2 separate regions of the Homo sapiens genome follow, and region 2 is linked to region 1. Evidence: promoter capture Hi-C in human tissues and cell types (Jung and others, 2019). All regions are on one chromosome and are shown on one strand. Each heading gives the region's core, a stretch centred on a gene start or on the middle of the fragment in contact. The rest is flanking DNA. Distances are from core to core; before and after follow the strand shown.

The links. The method cuts DNA at HindIII sites, captures the fragments that hold promoters and counts their contacts. A contact is called where the count stands out against the background at its distance.
Region 2: a fragment that was not itself captured here is called in contact with the fragment with the promoter of ZNF383 in region 1 in 1 of the 25 tissues and cell types used here (bladder).

What each region holds. Positions count from the first base shown.
Region 1 is chr19:37,213,682-37,219,463 of GRCh38, forward strand. ZNF383 (zinc finger protein 383) reads left to right here and starts at 4,533. Exons shown (of 6, transcript NM_001387601.1): 1 at 4,533-4,593. RefSeq lists an enhancer at 4,159-4,648. The HindIII fragment of the contact is 10,545 bases long and covers 1-5,782 here.
Region 2 is chr19:36,827,122-36,833,139 of GRCh38, forward strand. All of the region lies in intron 1 of ZNF790 (zinc finger protein 790), which reads right to left. ZNF790-AS1 (ZNF790 antisense RNA 1) reads left to right here. Exons shown (of 6, transcript NR_040027.1): 6 at 529-990. Among named protein-coding and RNA genes, the nearest start is that of ZNF790, 8.3 kb to the right of the region's middle. The HindIII fragment of the contact is 4,640 bases long and covers 1-4,226 here.

The DNA.
Region 1 (5,782 bases), core at 3,283-5,782:
CAGCTCACTGCAACCTCTGCCTCCCAGGTTCAAGCGATTCTCCTGCCTCAGCCTCCCGAGTAGCTGGGACTACAGGCGCGTGCCACCACACCCAGCTAATTTTTGTATTTTTAGTAGAGACGGGGTTTCATCATGTTGGCCAGGATGGTCTCGATCTCTTCACCTCATGATTCACCCGCCTTGGCCTCCCAAAGTGCTGGGATTACAGGTGTGAGCCACCGTGCCTGGCCGGGATGTTAATTTCTTTCTTTCTTTCTTTTTTTGAGACGGAGTTTTGCTCCTGTTGCCCAGGCTGGAGTGCAGTGGCTTAATCTCGGCTCACTGCAACCTCCGCCTCCCAGGTTCAAGCAATTCTCCTGCCTCAGCCTCCTGAGTAGCTGGGATGACAGGCGCATGCCACCATGCCCAGCTTATTTTTTGTATTTTTAGTAGAGATGGGGTTTCATCATGTTGGCCAGGCTGGTCTCGAACTCCTGACCTCAGGTGATCCACCCACCTCGGCCACCCAAAGGGCTGGGCGTGAGCCACCGCGCCCGGCCATGGATGTTTATTTCTCCATTTCCCATCCTCCTCCCTTTGTCTGTCTCTCTAACCACACACAAATAGCACACTGTTTTAAGTATAGAGGCTTTATCATGTACCTCATATAACTTCATGTAACTTCAATTCTACTTTCTGTCTCTATGAATACACCTATTCTAGGCACCTCATATAAGTGGATTCATACAATATTTGTCCTTTTGGTCTGGCTTATCTCACTCCGCATAGTGTTGAAAAAGAAAATAAATGGCTTTTATCTGAGGAATGCAAGCCTTCTTTATGTGATCAAGCCCAGAGAGGGGTTGGGATGACACAGCTGTTGTGGTGGCTCATGCCTGTAATCCCAGCACTTTGGGAGGCCTCGGTGGGAGGATTACTTGAGGCCCGGAGTTTGAAACTAGACTGGGCAACATAACTAAACCCTCTCTCTATAAATTTTTTTTTCAATTAGCCAGGTGTGGTGGTGTACACCAATAGTCCCAGCTACTCAGAAGGCCTAGGCGGAAGGATGCTTAAGTCCAGGAGTATGAGGCTGCAGTGAGCTGTGATCATACCTCTGCATTCCAGCCTGGGAGACAGAGCAAGACCTTGTCTCTAAAAAAAAAAAAAAAAAAAAAAAATGCTGGGTGCAGTGGCTCACACCTGTAATCCCAGTACTTCGGGAGGCCAAGGCAGGCAGATCACTTGAGGTCAGGAGTTCAAGACCAGCCTAGCCAACATGATGAAACCCTGTCTCTACTTAAAAAAAAAAAAAAAAAAAAAAAAAAAAAGGAAAGAAAAATTAGCCGGGCATGGTGGTGGGTGCCTGTAATCTCAGCTACTAGGGAGGCTGAGGCAGGAGAATCACTTGAACCCAGGAGGCAGACGTTGCAGTGAGCCGAGATCCCACCACTGCACTCCAGCTTGGGCAACAGAGGGAGACCCCATCTCAAAATAAATAAATAAAAATTAAAAAAATAAATTAAAAATTAAAAAAAAGAAATGAGTTTTTTCTGCTCTAAAATCAAAAGTTTGCAAGCTGCATTCCTTTCTGGAGGCTCTGGAGAATTTGTTTTTTTTCATTTTCCAAGTTGGAGAAGCTGCCTGCATTCCTCAGCTCATGGGCTCCTTTCATCTTTACACCCAATAATGGCTGGTCGTGTGTTTCTCACAGCACACAATTCCAACACTGACTTTATGCCTTCTTCCTCATTTCAGACCCCATGTGATTACATTGGGTCTAACTGGACAATCCAGTATAATTCCCCTATGTTAAGGTCAGCCGATTAGCAACTTTAATTCTACCTGTTAATTTAATTCCACTTGCCATGTAACATAGCATATTCACAAGTCCCAGGAACTAGCATGTGGGTATTTTGGGGGGAACATTATCCTGCCTACTTTAGATGTTGAGGTCATTCAAGAGGAAAATGATAGTTTTGTTAACATGTGATGTTAGAACAACTGAATTTCCATCTGGAAAATAATAACTTTGAACATTACCTCACATACACAAAAACTAACTTCAAGTGGATGATAGACCAAAAATAAAAACTAAAACTATACAACCTTTAGAATAAAACATAGGAGAAATTCTTCACAACACTAGAGGAGTCAAAGATTGTTAGAAAGACCAGAAAGCATGAAGCACATTTTAAAGATGAGAAATTGGATTTCATCAGAAGTAAAAACTGCTTTTTGAAAGACATCATGAAGAAACTGAGGGCTGGGCACAGTGACTCACACCTGTAATAACACAGTGAGACCCCATCTCCACAAAACACAAGAAAATTAGTTGGGGGTGGTGGTGCACACCTGCAGTCCCAGCTACTCAGGAGGATCGACTAAACCCAGGAGGTCAAGGCTGTGGTGAGCTATGTTAACACCACTGCACTCCAGACTAGGCAACAGAGCAAGACCCTGTCTCAAAAAAAAAAAAAAAAAAAAACTGAGAAGGTAAGCCCCAGGCAGGGAGAGAATATTTGCAATTTGCAATATGTATATTTGGCAAAGGACTTTTACCCAAACATATAAAGAATTGTTACAACTCAATAATAACCAATTTTAAAATAAGAAAATTTTATTTATTTATTTATTTATTATTATTTTTTGAGATGCAGTTTTGCTCTTGTTGCCCTAGCTGGAGTGCAACAGTGTGATCTCAGCTCACAGCAACCTCTGCCTCCCGGGTTCAAGTGATTCTCCTGCAGGGATTACAGGCATGCACCGCCACGCCTGGCCAATTTCGTATTTTTAGTAGAGACGGTGTTTCTCCACGTTGGTCAGGGTGGTCTCGAACTCCCAACCTCAGGTGATCTGCCCGCCTCAGCCTCCCAAAGTGCTAGGATTACAGGCGTGAGCCACTGCGCCCAGCCGAATATTTTCAATAGATGTCACAAAAGAAGATAAAAGAATGGCAAATAAGTATATGAAAGTATGCTAAGTTCATTGACATCAGGAAATGCAAATTAAAAACATAATTTGATACTACTGCTCATTCCTTAGAATAGTCAATAGATGCCTGATGTGGGGTTTGGGAGGTGGGGATTGACTTAACAATGTGGGGGGCAGAGGGCGGTGAATAAAAATATTCTATATCCGCCGGGCGCGGTGGCTCACGCTTGTAATCTCAGCACTTTGGGAGGCCGAGGCGAGCGGATCACGAAGTCAGAAGTTCGAGGTCGGGAGTTCGAGACCAGCCTGTGAGCTCGAACCCTGTCTCTACTAAAAATACAAAAATTAGCCAGGCATGGTGGCGGGCACCTGTAATACCAGCTACTCGGAAGGCTGAGGCAGGAGAATCGCTTGAACCCGGGAGGCGGAACTTGCAGTGAGCCGAGATCTCGCCACTGCAGTCCAGCCTGGGTGACAGCTAGACTCCAACTCAAAAAAAAAAAAAAAAAAATTCTATATCCAGTAACACTAAGGATAAATGCTTGAGGGGATAGACACCCTATTTTACATGATATGATTCTTACGCATTGCATGCCTGTATCAAAACATCTCATGTACCCCATATACAACTACTATGTACCCACAAAAATTTAACTAAAATGCTTAAAAATTTTTTAATTTTAAAAAATATTCTATATCCTGATTACGATGGTGGTGACAAGGGTTTAGACATGCGTTGAAGCTTACCGAACAGTTCACTTAAAATGAGTGCATTTTATTGTATCTAAATTATTCTTCAGTAAAGTTGATTTTTAAAAAACATGCACACAAATATAATTTACAAACTATAACATTAGCTCGTTTATGGTGTACCATTCAGTCACTTTTAGTGTATTCAGAGTTGTGCAAACATCATTATCTAATTCAAGAAGCTTTGCATTACCCCAAAAATGAACCCTTTAGCTATTACCAATCACTCACAGTTCCCCCTAATCCTGCTAGTCCTAAAAAACTCTAACTTACTCCTTTTCCGTAGATTTGACTATTTTAAATATTTCCTATAAATGCAGTCATACAGTATGTGGCTTATCCACGGATGAAGGCAAAAATGACGATTTAGTCAGTCTAGCATTCTCAGAGAGCGTTATAACGCCTAGTACAGTCCGGGGTCCTGGGTGCGTTCTGCACTGAGTCGGCTTGGGGCAGGAAGTCATTTAAGCGACCTCCTTCCACTTGCCCCAGCGCCTCACCCCTTCCTGCTCTAGACTACAGTTCCCAAAAATCCTTGCGGCTCTAGTCAACATCTGGCCCGAAGCTGGCGACCTTTTCCTGTTTCTCAGGGAACTCCCTGGGGTTGGCCGGTACCATGGAGGAAGATTGTCTTCAGCGTGCAGGGCCAGCGTCCTACGGCAGTTTCACTCTGAGCCTGTGTCTGGATCACGGAGACGCGGGGTAGCGGTTCGGAGTGCGGAGCAGGGATGTCCCCGAGCTGTGCAGCTGCAAGAACCCGAAAAAACAGGCGCCATCTTCTCGGCGCGGTCCTACTCCGGACTGTATTTCCCAGAGGCCCCCGCGAGTCCAGGGCAGCCCCTTCATTTGCCTGCTGGACCCTCCGCCTCAAGGGTAGGGGAAGTGCGCGGTGAGCGGCCTGGGTCTTGCAGGCTCGGCTGGGGCCCGCAGGTACGTGCATGGGAGTTTGAAGGGACTGACCAGGCTGGTCTGGAGTGTTGGGCATGTATGAGTGTGTCGGGCATGTATGAGTTGGTCGGGCTGATAGAGGGGGTGGTGGGGAGGCGGGCGCGAGGCGTGGGCTTCCGTGTGTGAGTGTGACCTTATGTGACTGTGCCTCTCTGTGTGCGCGGGTGTGATTGTATATCCTCGTTGTAGTTGTGTAATTGTAACAATGTAAGGCTGTATGTGTAGGTATGACTGTGTCCCGTGTTGGGACTGTGATTGTGTGTGGCTGTGTAACTTTGCGTGACATTTGTGGAGGGTGTTTGTGTGGAGAGAATCTGATGAGGCTGTGACTGTGTGTTAGTCTGAGGGGTGTGTGTAATTGTGTTTGTATGACTGTTAGCAGCACTTAAGTGTACTGGATGCCTTACTGAGTAAATCTACTACCCAGAAATAACCCAGTAACGTGAGAATGTGAGAGTGTGACCATGTAACTTTATGTAGCACTGTGTCTGCGGTTGGAAAGTGCGTGTAATCGTGCCGGGGTGATATGTGTGTCCTAGTGGTCATTGTGTTATTTTGAATGTGTGATTGTGTGTAGTGCTCAATAGGGGTCCTGGGGAGGGGGGAACTGTAACTTTGTGTGGCTCAGTAGTGCGTGTGGTATTGTGACTATCTGTAGCACTCTGGTTCTGAATGGTGCTATGTTTGAGGGGTCTGTAAATATGCTAGTGTAACTTATCCTCAAGGTAGATGTGGGACAATGATTGTGTGACCATATATAGTGTTATTGTTTGGGTGAGGCGTGCCTGTGGAGGTCTATGTGGGTCCCCATGGTGGCTGGGTGACTGCAGCATTGGGTAGGGGGTGCTTGTGACTGTCTTTGTGACTCCAGCTCTCCCTGTGAGGTCAGGACAGATTCTCGAGAGGAGAGACCTCACCCCTCTGATACCAAGAATGCTCATGACAGCCTACACTTCTCTGTTTTTGTTTTGTTTTGTTTTAAGGCGGAGTTTCGCTGTTGTTGCCCAGGCTGGAGTGCAATGGCGCAATCTCGGCTCACCGCAACCTCCGCCTCCCCGGTTCAAGCAATTCTCCTGCCTCAGCCTTCCTAGTAGCTGGGATTACAGGCGTGTGTCACCACGCCCTGCTAATTTTGTATTTTCAGTAGAGACGGGGTTTCTCCGTGTTGGTC
Region 2 (6,018 bases), core at 657-3,156, 390 kb before region 1:
ACACACACACACACACACACATATATATATATATATATATATATATATATATATATACACTTACCAAACTATAAGCATTCACCACCAGACTGGGAAGCAACAGCCTGGGCTCCAGAGTCAGACACTACACCCAGCAGACTATGGAGGATTCACCACCAGACCGGGAAGCAACAGCCTGGGCTCCACAGTCGGCCACCCATCCGTGCACAGGCGAGGAGAGGTCTCATGAAGCTTTGGTGCAGTCTGGGAGCTTAGCTCTTTTTGTAACAAGTTGTTTGGCATGAGGCCCAGTCACAAGGGCCCTTCCTGACTGGGCTCAAGGAACACAAAAAGTTCAACCTGTTTTTGCGATTGTCTATTGTTTTTCAATGACTAATGTATAGGAATAGATTGAAATAGAGAATTCTCCGAAACAGCACTGGATGAACGCTTCAAGGGGCTCACACAACCTGTTCCAGGACTTGGTGACCATTGTTTGTGTCCATGTTCAATTGAGTTCAAATTTAATATTTAACTTTTCCTCCACAGGGGCTCACCAGAGAAGACAGGGCAAGGTGAGGGGGATCTCCTAGCAGAGGAAACAACATGCGCCAATCAAGCAAAGATATTTTTGTGCATTCAAGGAACACAGAGAGGAAAGACAGTGGCAGATGGAGACGTATAAAGCAGGGATCCTGTTATGAAAAGCCCTAAAAAATAGGGTATAGAGTTTGGGCCATATTTCAGAGGTAATAAGAAAGCATTCTGCATTTTTAAAGTAAGGTTTAAAAATGTTTCTAATTAGAGATACAGCAAAGTTGGTGTGAGAGGATAAAGACTGATATACATAATCTGAGGAGTTCATGAAAATTCCATGTAAAGCCTGTAGTATGAATTGGTCCTAGGAGACAGACAGCTTCAGGGGCATAGAGAACTTTAAGCACTTTTCCAAGAAGAGTGAAGGGCTGGAGAATAAATTGTGAACTAAAATATATTTTGTGTTTGAGAACATGAAGTACTTGAGAGTGATTATTACACGGTTTTAAGAAAAAACTAGTTCTTTTAAATAAAACTTTTTTTTAGCTGAGCACAGTGGCTCACGCCTGTAATCCCAGCACTTTGGGAGGCCGAGGCAGGCGGATCACCTGAGGTCGGGAGTTCGAGATCAGCCTGACCAACATGGACAAACCTCGTCTTAATTAAAAATATAAAATTAGCCGGGCATGGTGGCACATGCCTGTAATCCCAGCTACTCAGGAGGCTGAGGCAGGAGAACTGCTTGAACCTGGGAGGCGGAGGTTGCGGTGAGCTGAGATCGTGCCATTGCACTCCAGCCTGGGCAACAAGAGCAAAACCCCTTCTCAAAAAAAAAAAAAAGGAAAAAAAAATTTTTAGGGACAGTGTCTCAAACTGTCAGTCATGCTGGAGTAGAGTGGTGCAATCACAGTTTACTGTTGCCTCAAACTGCTAGGCTGAAGCGATCCTTCCACCTCAGTCTGCTGAATAGGGTGGGACTACAGGAATGCACCACTGTGCCTGGCTAATTTATTTTATTTTTGTCGAGACGGGGTCCGCTATGTTGCCCAGGCTGTTCTCAAACTCCTGGCCTCAAGAAATACTTTCCCACCTTGGCCTCCCAAAGTGCTGGAATTACAGGTGTAGGCCACCATGTCCAGCCAAAAACTAATTCTAATCCTGATATTCCTCCTCCTGGAAACCATGTAGACAGAAACAAGAAAATCAAAGTAAATCCCAACCATCAGGAAACAGAAAATGAACAGATTCCAAATTATTTGGAGATGTGAAAAGAAAATGAAAGAACAATGTCTGTGGAAGCCACAGTGATGCTACAAAGAAAAACAAATGAGGAATATCCATTCCCATGGGGAGTAGACCATATCCTGAATGAAAGTTTCTGTGAGCAGGAATGATGTCAAAAGGAGGTGGTAAAAGGAGGCCCGAAGATGTCAGGGGGATTCAAGGTGGCAAAACACATTGGTTGTATTTTTTTTTTAAAGCTTTATTGAAATATAATTCACATACCATACAATTAAGCCATTTACAGTGAACAATTCAATGGTTCTTAGTATATTCACAAATACGTGCAACCACAGTCAATGTTAGAATATTTTCATCATTTCGAAAAGAAACTCTAACCCTTTGGCTATCACTCCTTGGCTTCCCCACTGCCACATGTGCCCCATACTTAGCCTCAAATAATGACTAATCTACTTTCTGACTCTATGGATTTTCCTATTCTGGACTTTCATATGAATGGAATAACATATGTGGACTTGTTACTGGCTTCTTTCACGTAGCATAAGGTTCTCAAGGTTTATCCAAATTGTAGCATGAATCAGTACTTCATTCCTTGCTATGCCTGAATAATATCTCTGCAAATGAATAGACCACCTTTTGTCTACCCATTCGTCTATTAATGGACATTTGGGTTGTTTCCACCTTTTGACAATTACTATTATTTTTGAGATGAAGTTTCGCTCTTGTTGCCCAGGCTGGAGTGCAATGGCACGATCTCGACTCACCACAACCTCCACCTCTGGGGTTCAAGTGACTCTCCTGCCTCAGCCTCCCGAGTAGCTGGGATTACAGGCATGTACCACTATGCCCAGCTAATTTTGTATTTTTAGTAGAGACGGGGTTTCTTCATGTTGGTCAGGCTAGTCTCAAATTCCCGACCTCAGGTGATCCGCCCGCCTCGGCCTCCCAAAGTGCTGGGATTACAGGCCTGAGCTACCATGCCCGGCTGACAATTATTTTTAAAATGCTGCAATGAACATTCATGTAAAAGTTTTTGTTTGAATATCATCTATTTTGTAGTTTTCAGAGTATAAGTTTTATTTTCTATATAGAAAATCATGCCATCTGCAAATAGAGATGCTCTTAGCTGTGTTCCGTTCTTTTCTCCAGTGTCTTTTATTTCTTTTACTTCCCCATTTGCCCTAGCCCAATTGCCAGTACAATGTTAAACAGAAGTGGGGATCCTTGTCTGGTCCCTGATCTTAGAGGGAAGACATCCAGTCTTTTACCATTAAGTGTGATGTTGGCTGTGGGTTTTTCCTAGATATCAGGTTGAATTCCTCTTTATTCCTAGTTTGTAGAATGTGTATGTTTTAAAAAAAATCATAAAGGGTATTGGCTCTGGTCAAATGCCTTATCTCTATCTATTGAGATGATTGTGTGATTTTTGTTTTTTTATTCTATTGATATGATGTATCACATTAACTGACTTTTGATGGTGAGCCAACCTTGCATTTCTGGGATAAATCCCACTCAGTCATGTTATATAATTCATTTTAGATGTTACTGGATTTGGTTTGCTACTACTTGTTGAGGATTTTTACACCCATATTCTTATGAGATATACTTTGTCTCGTTTCAGTATCTGGGAAATACTGGCCTCATAAAATGAGCTGGGGACTTGGCTGTATTCCTTAATTATAGTAGAAGACACTGGGTGAACTCAGAGCTGATAATAGGAGTCCTCCTGAACCAGTTGAGCTTCTGAATGGTAAAGAAGGCCTGGCTATTCAAAGGGAACCAAATTTTAAAAAAATTGTCTTCTACTGGGGTAACAGAGGAAGAAACCCTTGAGCAAAAAAACCTTAAAAACTACCCTTGCCCCATTCACTTTTTTCACATGAAAATACCAGTGACAGCTATTCCAGGAAAATCTATTACATCCTCTCCAAAATATAAATTAGATATAACATGCGTAAGATAGTTAGATAAAAGTTTTAGGCTGGTGCAGTGGCTCACGCCTGTAATCCCAGCACTTTGGGAGGCCAAAGCGGGCGGATCACGAGGTCAGGAGATCGAGACCATCCTGGCTAACATGGTGAAACCCTGTCTCTACTAAAAATACAAAAAATTAGCCAGGTGTGGTGGCATGTGCCTGTAGTGCCAGCTACTTGGGAGGCTGAGGCAGGAGAATCACTTGAACCTGGGAGGCAGAGGTTCCAGTGAGCCAAGATCACGCCACTGCACTTCAGCCTAGCAACAGAGCAAGACTCCATCTCAAAACAACAACAACAACAACAACAAAAAACACACAAAGTTTTAAAAGTGTGTCAAAATCCCCCATGTACAAAAAAACTCACTAAAAAAATCAGAGAAGATGAAAATCATCACCCAACATTTCAGTCTGAATTAAAAAAAAAGTATGATGCAATTGCAGCTCTAAAAGCAGACCACAAGCAAAAATATACGATCTCAGGAGAGAGAAGAAAGTAATAGATAGACCATAGATGGGAGTTAGTGGAATTCAAGACTGAAAGAGAAAATAGGCTAAGTCACATCAGAAATGAAGAATAAACTAGCTAGTGCAGCGGCATGTGCCTGTGGTCCCAGCTACTTGGGAGACTGAGTCTAGAAGATTGCTTGAGTCCAGGAGTTCAAGGTTGAGGCCAGCCTGGGCAACACAGTGAGACCCCCATCTCTAGGCGCATAAGATCTGACAAATGCCACAGAAAGTATAGTATGGAACACAGAATACAGAAATTAATGAACAGAACAAAATTTAACAAAGAAACAAAAATCATTTGAAGAAATGAAAATGAAAAGAGAGATCCAATATGCAAAACGCAGAGCACCTAAAAATGAAATCCAAATTAAGAGGATATATCTAAAACGATGGTTGTAGCTGTGTATCTAACACTACAGTTTTAATACTCAAGATGAATTTCCTGAAATAGAGTATAAATAAACGTGATGAAAAGTGAAACCATATTACAGGTGAAAATGAACCAAAATAGTAGCAAAACATGACCTAATAAAATTAGACTAAAACTCATGGGGAATCAAGATAAAAATATCAAATATAAGAAAAAGGAAATTCAATTGTCATCAGACTTCTGCAGTGCTAAATTCAGTACCCCAAACAGTGGGGTAAATCTTCCAATATACTTGTGAAAAAAACAAATGAGGGAGTCAAAACATTTTTATATCCAGCCAAGCTGTCATTCGAGTATAAAGGATATAAGGAGTTTTATGATGCAACTTAGGAAATACTGTTGACATGCGCTGTTTCAGAAGAAGCTACTAGAAGACATACTCCAGCCACAAAAGAACAATAGTGAAAGTTTCAGCAAAAGAATAGTAGTGATGCTGAACATATTTAAATGCAAATCTAAATAAAATAGTAAAAGCGGAATTATGGTAGCCAGCATCCTGGATGGCCCCAAAGGTACCCAGTATGTGGTATTCACAACACTGTGTAGCTGCCTCCTATACTGAATAGGATTAACTTGTATAGCAATAAGGTACTGCGGAAATGATAGAGTATGAGATAGATATAAAAGACACTGTGGCTTCCAGCTTATGCGTTCTTGCTGTCCTTTTGCTCTGGAGAAAACCAGTTGACGTATCACAGGGACACTTAAGAAACCCCATGGAGAGGTCTACATGGTGAGAAACTGAAGTCTATTGCCAATAGCCATGTGAGAGCCACGTTGGAAGGTGATCCTCTAGTCCCTGTTATGCCTTCAAATGATAGCAGCCCTGGCCAAGAGTGTGACTGCAACCTCAAGAGACCCCAAGCCAGAACTTCCCAGCTAAGCCACTCCTGAACTCCTGGTCCACAGAAAATGGTGTTAAGATAATAAATATTTATTTCTGTTTTAGGGTAATATGTTTTACAGCAATAGATAACTAATATAGAAATGAAGGTTAGAGAATAGAAAATAGACTAGCTCATTGATTGCCTCATTTGTGATAACTGAGAGATAAAGGGTGTCATTTCAAGCTGAAAATCAAGGGGAAGAAATTTAGAAATGTTTAGGACTACAGCCAAGGCAGGAGGACTGCCTTGAGGCCAGGAGTTTGAGGCCAGATTAAGCAAAAGAATGAGACCTTCTCTAAAAAAAAAAAAAAAATGAATACAAATGTAAGTCAAACAGGGCAAAATGTCAATTAAATTTCAACATACAAGCAAAAAGTAGGAAATTTAAAATGACAGCACTTAGCAGGAAAAATTCAAATTCCTATAAATAAATCTAACAATATATGTAACATACAATATCT